3 separate regions of the Homo sapiens genome follow, and regions 2 and 3 are each linked to region 1. The links are contacts of gene promoters, found by promoter capture Hi-C in human tissues and cell types (Jung and others, 2019). All regions are on one chromosome and are shown on one strand. Each heading gives the region's core, a stretch centred on a gene start or on the middle of the fragment in contact. The rest is flanking DNA. Distances are from core to core; before and after follow the strand shown.

What was found. The method cuts DNA at HindIII sites, captures the fragments that hold promoters and counts their contacts. A contact is called where the count stands out against the background at its distance.
Region 2: a fragment that was not itself captured here is called in contact with the fragment with the promoter of C9orf153 in region 1 in 2 of the 25 tissues and cell types used here (liver and mesenchymal stem cells).
Region 3: a fragment that was not itself captured here is called in contact with the fragment with the promoter of C9orf153 in region 1 in 4 of the 25 tissues and cell types used here (H1 embryonic stem cells, heart right ventricle, mesenchymal stem cells and 1 more).

The regions. Positions count from the first base shown.
Region 1 is chr9:86,258,407-86,260,974 of GRCh38, forward strand. It overlaps C9orf153 (chromosome 9 open reading frame 153), which reads right to left and starts at 1,251. Exons shown (of 4, transcript NM_001276366.4): 1 at 1,144-1,251. It also overlaps the pseudogene RN7SKP264. The HindIII fragment of the contact is 6,872 bases long and covers 1-2,568 here.
Region 2 is chr9:86,340,667-86,343,234 of GRCh38, forward strand. TUT7 (terminal uridylyl transferase 7) reads right to left here. Exons shown (of 27, transcript NM_024617.4): 6 at 2,409-2,497; 7 at 336-387. Among named protein-coding and RNA genes, the nearest start is that of TUT7, 12 kb to the right of the region's middle. The HindIII fragment of the contact is 6,359 bases long and covers 1-2,568 here.
Region 3 is chr9:86,193,989-86,196,556 of GRCh38, forward strand. No RefSeq gene overlaps it. Among named protein-coding and RNA genes, the nearest start is that of C9orf153, 64 kb to the right of the region's middle. The HindIII fragment of the contact is 4,388 bases long and covers 1-2,568 here.

The DNA of each region.
Region 1 (2,568 bases), core at 1-2,500:
TTGAAGTAATTACTTTTAGAGAGCTTGTTTGGAGGTTCTAGCAGGGGAGTGCAGCTACTCATATACCCTTGCCCAAAGAACGGCCCTCCTCTGTTGGGGAAGGTTGTCCGCAGCGTCTGGAAGGACGCATGTGGACGGATGAGGGAGGAAGGAGACATCCACCTAGCCAGCCAGATCAGACAAATTAACCCTGGCCATCAGTGGGGTGACAGATGTTGCAGCCAGATCACCCTCACATCCGGAAATAATTGCTTTTAAAACGCAATATTTGAAAACCTGAATTTTCTTGGGTAAGCAACTATTATATTGCTAATTTAACGAAACTTTTTTTAAAAATATTAATATACTTAAATTTTAGAGCAATTTTAGAATTGGTTAGAAAGTACAATGTTCCCACAACCCCCCTTCTCTGCACCATACACACAGCTTTCCCCTTTTTTTTTTACTACTTATGTTTGTGTGGTACGTTTGTTATACTTGATGAGCCGGTATCAATGCATGGTTACTAACTAAAGCCCATACTTCACAGTTTACATTACGGTCCATTCTTGGTGTTGTGCATTCTATGAGATTTCACAATGTGCAATTACATATATCCACTTTGATAGTATCATACAGAGCAGTGTTTTTTTTTTTTCTTTGAGATAGGCTCTCATTCTGTCACCCCAGCTGGAGTGCAGTGGCGTGAACACAGGTCACTGCAGCCTCAACCTCCCAGGCTCAGGTGATCCTCCCATCAGCCTCCCAAGTGGCAGAGGAAAAACAAAGGACACTGGGTGTGAGGGAGAGGTGCAAAGTCAGGACCAAGCATCCATGGGAACACAGGGGAGGATGAAGGCACTGAGGTTGGGGAGAGAGAGCAGAGCTATCAGTGTTGAAGGCCGGAAAGGATGAGGGAGTCTGCAGGCTCGGCCCGATCAACTGGTTCCAGCTTCTGTGACCTGCCTGGAGGAAGATGAAACAGGCTCCTCATCCTTATTGGTAAAGATAAACCCAAATCCCATCTCACCTCCCAGCTCTGGTCTTCCCACCTTAGCCACTGCCCACCTCACTCCATCTCTCCTTGCCAAGCCTAGACTGGCTTAGTTTTCACTGCTCTGTGGTCTCACAGTGCCCCGTGGCTATGGCTGTAGATGCACTTACCACTTGTTTTACAGTTGTCTCTTCACGTGGTCATATCTGTCTTGAGTCTCTGCACTCCCAGGGCAGAGGCTGGGTCTCATTCATCCAGCAGCCCCAAGGCCCAGCCCCACTCCTAGCATGTGTCATTGCTTAGTGTTAAGTGACTGTCCATTGTGACATGTGGACATTCTCAAGGTCACATAAGCAGCTATATGATGCTAAGCGATGGGGAATTATCTTGCTGCTTGGTGGGGGGTGGGAGACGGTGGAGGATGATGGAAAAGCATTTTTAAAGAGTGAACATTGAGTAGCTGAGTAGCTACTTTTTTTTCTGCCTCAGCTTGTGGCTGGGACCCCGGGCGCACGCCACCACGCCTGGCTAATTTATGTATTTTTCTCTAGAGATGGGGTTTCGCCATGTTGCCCAGGCTGGCGTGAGTATAATTTTTTTTTTTTTTTGAGATGGAGTCTCACTCTGTCGCCCAGGCTGGAGTGCAGTGGCACGATCTCAGCTCACTGCAAGCTCCGCCTCCCGGGTTCACGCCATTCTCCTGCCTCAGCCTCTTGAGTAGCTGGGACTACAGGTGCCGTGAATGTAATTTTTAATCAGTCAAGTTTTTCCTTCTATAGACATGGGCAAAGTGCAAATAAGAAATTGAGAGAGATAATAGAAGGTACAGCTATGCTCTTTGCACCTGGCCAGATATGGGTAGAAGTGGACCAGGGGCTACCTGGCTGTGCAAATTCTCTCCATGAGCCATGCAGCCGTGCTCCAGACTCCATTCCCCACCCATGGGAGGTCCCTGTGGCAATCACTGAAAATTTTCCTGAAACAGCCATTTCCCCAGAATGCAATCTACTGGGCATTTAAATAGTCTGATTGAGTTAATAACTTGTGAACACCGTGGCAACATATCCATAACATGAAGCTTACCGTGTTAAGCCGTTTTAGGTACACAGTTCTGTGGCATTCAGTACATTCACATTGTTGTGCCACCTGCACTGCCTTCCATCTCCAGAGCTTTTTCATCTTTTCCACCTGAATCTGTGTCCATGAAATAAATTTCTCACCCCCTGTCCCCTGTCAATGGACACCTGGGTTGTTCCTACCTTTTGGCTATTGTGAATAATGCTGTTATGAACATGGATATACAAGAAAGTTAATAATTTTAAGCAGAATTTAATAAATACAGAAGATTCTTCCAATGAGAAAATATTTCAAAAGCCTGCCATTCAAAGGTGTTCTGCAGAGCAACAGCACTGGCTTCACTTGGGCCTTTGCTACTAATGCAGAATCTCAGGCTCTGCCCTGGACCTTTGTTACAGAATCTGCTTTTTTTTTTTTTTTGAGACAGTTTTGCTCTGTCACCCAGGCTGGAATGCAGTGGTGCCATCTCATGTCACTGCAACCTCCCCACCTCCCAGGTTCAAGTGATTCTCCTGCCT
Region 2 (2,568 bases), core at 47-2,546, 82 kb after region 1:
TGATTTTAACCATTGATAAAAGCAGATTATCCTTCAGTTTTACCCTCAAGAGTACATTTTACATATTTTGCATTTCTTAGTCACATCTAGGACTCATTTAATCTTTATAAATAGTGATGATGTCATCAAGCTAAAAGCTTTACTTATGAAATGGTTATTCTGCATAGTAGAACTACTAACAGGACTCTAGTTAATAATTCATGGGCATTTGCTTTGGATATTACCCACATAAATAATTTTAAAAGCATGCCTTGCTATTTTCAAAGTTTGAGAAATAAGATAGATCCAAATTATAGACAACATAAAAATTTTTTAAATGTGGAATTTGGCCTTACCACTGTTCTTTAAACATTCTTGAACAAGTAAGAGGACATCTGGCTGAGACATCTAGGAAATAAATCAATGAATACATGAAATTATTCCTAAGTGATTTTGCTTCACTGATATAAGAGTCATCCGAAGTTCCCCAAATTCCTTTCTAAATGAGAAATGCACATTGCTATCAAAGTAAAGAAATTACTCACTATGTTGTTTGCATATGTCAGTCAAAGACAGACAGATCAACACCAAATGAAGACAAATGTGGGCAAGAGACCTACTATACAACTAACTTCTGATTTAACTAATTATTGAGGTTAACCTGCCTCTCAGCAAGTCTCAAAGTGGTAGCTGGAAGTTTGTCAAACTGCTAACAATATTACCTTTCACTCTAATACCATTGCAACAGATAGCTTACTGGTCCCGGAGTCAGTCTTGCACTTCTTTTTAAAATCCTTGTTTCGCAATGGAGCCAGGGCCATTTAAAATCATAAACTGTATCCTTACAACTCTCAATGACTTCTTACTGCCCTTAGGTCAAAACCAAATTCTTTATTTACCATGGTCTACACAATTCGGCCAGTCAAGCCCAGCCTACCTAGCCATCCTAATCTCCTGCTCTTCTTTTTCTTGGTCCCTTCACCATACTTACACAACCTTTCTTTTAGCTCCTTGAATATGCCAAACTCTTTATTGATTTAGGGTATTTGCAAATGCTGCTCCCCCTGCCTGAAACTCTTTTCCCTCCCGTTTCCCCCTCTCCTGCAGGCTCCTTTTCGTCTTTTAGAACTCAGCTTAAATGTTCCCTCTTCAAAGAAGCCTTCATGACTGCTGTATCTCTGCCCAGACCTTGTCATTTTCTATCCCTGAACCTTTACCTGCACAGCTCTCACTATAATTACAAGGTAATTACTAATCTCCTTTACTAGATGAGTTCCATAAAGAGGAACCATCTCTGTTTTGTCCTTTATAACCTAGTATGTCTGCCATACAAATGGGATGAGTGAATATTTGCTAAATGAATTAATGACACCGGATCAAAATAACTGCTATGGCTGGTAAATCACTGATCAGAATTTAAGGTTAAAAAAACAGTCTATTGGGTAGCTTACCAGGTAGCTACAGCACTCAGGTTTAGCAAGAAGTAAGAGGTTGTAAAATAGAACCTCTGGGGCCCCAGAATCTGGATTTTTTTTGAGAGAGGTGGGGCTGGCCAGGCTGTTCATGAACTCCTGGGCTCAAGTAACCCTCCAACCTCAGTCTCCCGAGTAGCTGGGATTAGAGGGTGAAGCCACTGCACCCAGCTCAGAATATGGATTTTTAACAAGCAACCCAAGTAACTGCAAACACATCATCTATAAACAGGCCTGTGGGAACTAACAGCAGAGAAATGGATAATCTACTAAAGTGCCTTTCAGTTTTTTGTTTTTTTAAGAGATAGGGTCTCACTATGTTGCCCAGGCTGGAATGCAGTGGCAATTCTCAAGTGCAGTCACAGCTAACTACAGCTTTGAACTTCTGGGCTCGTGATCCTCCCGCCTCAACCTCCAGAGTAGCTGGGACTACAGAACTGTGCCGTGTCCAGCTACACTCCAGTTTTAAAATTCTAACTCATCAACATACTTTTAAATCATGTTTAAACCAGAAATCCAGGCTAGGTGTGATTCTTTAAAAGCCTAATTATTTTAACAAAATAGGTATACAAAAAGAGGAAACTCCAGAGACAATTAAGCTTGCAGATCATAAATGTTTAAATATCTACACTTTAAAATCTGAATTCCCTTTCTGCCACTGGAAAGTTGATTTTATCAAGAAAATTTACTCTTTTTAAGTAACAGAACCTAAACACCCCCATCAGGTGCACATGGTTGAAAAACCAGTGTTGGATGTATAAAAGATCTATAGACTAAAATAAGTATGAAAATTTGCAGAGTATTAAAAAAAAAAGCTCTGAAACTGAAGGCAAGCGGATGCTGTCATTACACTTAAAATATCTTCAAATATCTAAAATATATTCATAGACAGTTTACATTTGTAAGAAAGAATTTCCATACCACTCTGAAAGTGCCAGCATTTCATTTTGTACTTACAATGGCTGGAAACTGGATGTCAATGTTTACATCCGAATTTTTGAAACCCAATCTGCTACAGGATGACCCATATAATCTTAGGGAACAATCTAAAAAATAAATAAATAAATAAAAGTAATAAATACAGTAGAATTTCTCAAAAGTTATAACAAAACACTGC
Region 3 (2,568 bases), core at 29-2,528, 64 kb before region 1:
CTACCATTGTATCTTGGAAGTAAATAACTGTTTTGATTTTACAGGCTCATAGGCAGAAGGAGATGAGTCTCAGATGACTTAGGACTTTGGACTTGATTAATGAGTTGAAATGAGTTAAGATGTTGGGGGACTGTTGGGAAGGGATAATTGTATTTTGCAATATGAGAAAGACATGAGATTTGGGGGACCAGGGGACAGAATGATATGGTTTGGATATTTGTCTCCTCCAAATCTCATGTAGAAATGTCATCCCCAGTATCAGAGGTGGGGCCTGGTGGGAGATGTTTGGATCATGGGAGCAGATCCCTCATGAATGGCTTAGCACAATCCCCATCACCATCTGAGTTCATATAAGATCTGGTTGTTTAAAAGTTTAAAAAAAGTTTAAAAGTTTCCATCTCTCCTTGCTCCTGCTCTCACTGTGTGATACGCTGGCTCTTGCTTTGCCTTCCACCATGATTGTAAGCTTCCTGAGGGCTCCCCAGAAGCCAAGCAGATTCCAGTGCCATGCTTCCTGTACAGCCTGCAGAACCATTAGCCAATTAATTCTGTTTTCTTTATAAATTACCCAGCCCCAGGTATTTCTTTATAGCAATTCAAGAATGGACTAATACAGTTAGAAATAGATTTTTTTTTAAGTCTAAAGAGCATAGCAAACATCAACCTAAGGACTAAAGTATCTACTGTTCCTGTCTCATACCTGCTGTACTTCTGATAAGAACATCCTCTTTCCTGGGACCTCAAATACTTAGACAATCCCCATTCATTTTTTGAGATGAAGCTTAAACATGTCCACCTTTTAAAGCCTCTCTTGATCCACCCAAACCTGGAGAACTTCAATGATTGCATTTACATTGGCTCCTACCTTAATTATCCCTCAGTGATTGCATTTACGCCAGCCCCAACTCAAAGATTGCATTTACACTGGACTACACATCTTTATGTCCCCCATAGACAGCTGTCCCCCAGGTACCTGCTTTGTTCATTTCACATCCAAGCATCCATTAGAATGCCTCTCTCATGGTAGGCACTTCACTCTAAAATCCTTTTGGGAACAAAGTGACTATGTGATTTGAAGAGAAAAAGAAAAAAATAAAGGAAGGAAGCAAGCAAGGCAGGAAGGATAGAAGGAAGGAAGGAGCAAGAACATTAAGAATGTTCAAGTTGGCTGGGCATGGTGGTTCACGCCTGTAATCCCAACAATTTGGGAGGCCTAGGTGGGTGGATTACTTGAGGTCAGGAGTTCAAGACCAGCCTGACCAACATGGTGAAACTCCATCTCTACTAAAAATACAAAAATTAGCTGGGCATGGTGGCGGGCACCTGTAATCCCAGCTACTCGGGAGGCTGAAGCAGGAGAATCACTTGAACCTGGGAGGTGGAGGTGGCAGTGAGCTGAGATTGCACCATTGCACTCCAGCCTGGGTGACAAAGTGAGACTCCATCTCAAACAAACAAACAGAATGTTCAAGTTATTATATAATAAGTGATTTTAAATATTAATAACTGAAATTTTACTGAAGTACACATTTTGTTCAACTCAAATTAGAGGCAGCACAGTTTAGAAAAAAAAGGTACTAAGCTATGAAAGCAGAAGTTTTGGTTTTGACACTTGACTTTCCTCTCTGCTCACCTTGCTACTTTTCGAGTTTTTTTAATCTGTTAACAGATAAGGGATTGGACCTCATCTGTAAGATCCTTTCCAGTCCTTTTTTTTTGAGACAGAGTTTCACTCTGTCGCCCAGGCAGGCTGAAGTACAGTGGCATGACCTTGGCTCACTGCAACCTCGGCCTCCCGGGTTCAAGAGATCCTCGTGCCTTGGCCTCCCAAGTAGCTGGGATTACAGGTGTGTGCCACCACGCCTGGCTAATTTTTGTAATTTTAGTAGAGATGGGGTTTCACCATGTTACCCAGGCTGGTCTTGAACTCCTGACCTCAGGTGATCCACCCGCCTCTCCCTCCCAAAGTACTGAGATTACAGGCTCACACCTGTAATCACCATGCCCGGCCAGATCCTTTCCAGTTCTAAAGAGTCAAGAGAGCAAGCCAGAGCAGAGTGAGCTCTGAGTTGGCTGTTCTCTTTCTCTTCATCCACCATGCACTATGAAGAGTACTCTAGGCCATATCCCGTGCTAAGCTGGGAAGGTAGATTGTCAGATAGAAGAAAACTTTGACCTTTAAGGCTCACAGCCCAGTGGTGAAGCAGACAGGAAACAGAGAAGGCCTCCTTTTGGATATATGCAGGGGATGCGTGGAGTCCACACTTCATATGGCCTCTGTTGGCATCAACTTTCTTCACTGGGCCCCCCAACCCTCGCTCTGCTGTCTGGCTTCTGCCCTAGCTCTTGTGCCTTGTACATGAAGTATTTGTTGGGTGAGTAAATAAATGAGTTAATTGTCATGATGGAGACATGGCCAGGGAATTCTGAAAGCAGGGAGGAGGGGGTCCTAACCCAGTCTGGACCCAGGAGACGAGGGGGAGAAGTGATGAGAAAAGGTTTTCTGGAGGGGATTTAATGATTAGAATTAGCCAGGCTAAGTGTTTGCGTAATGAAGCTTCCAGGCAG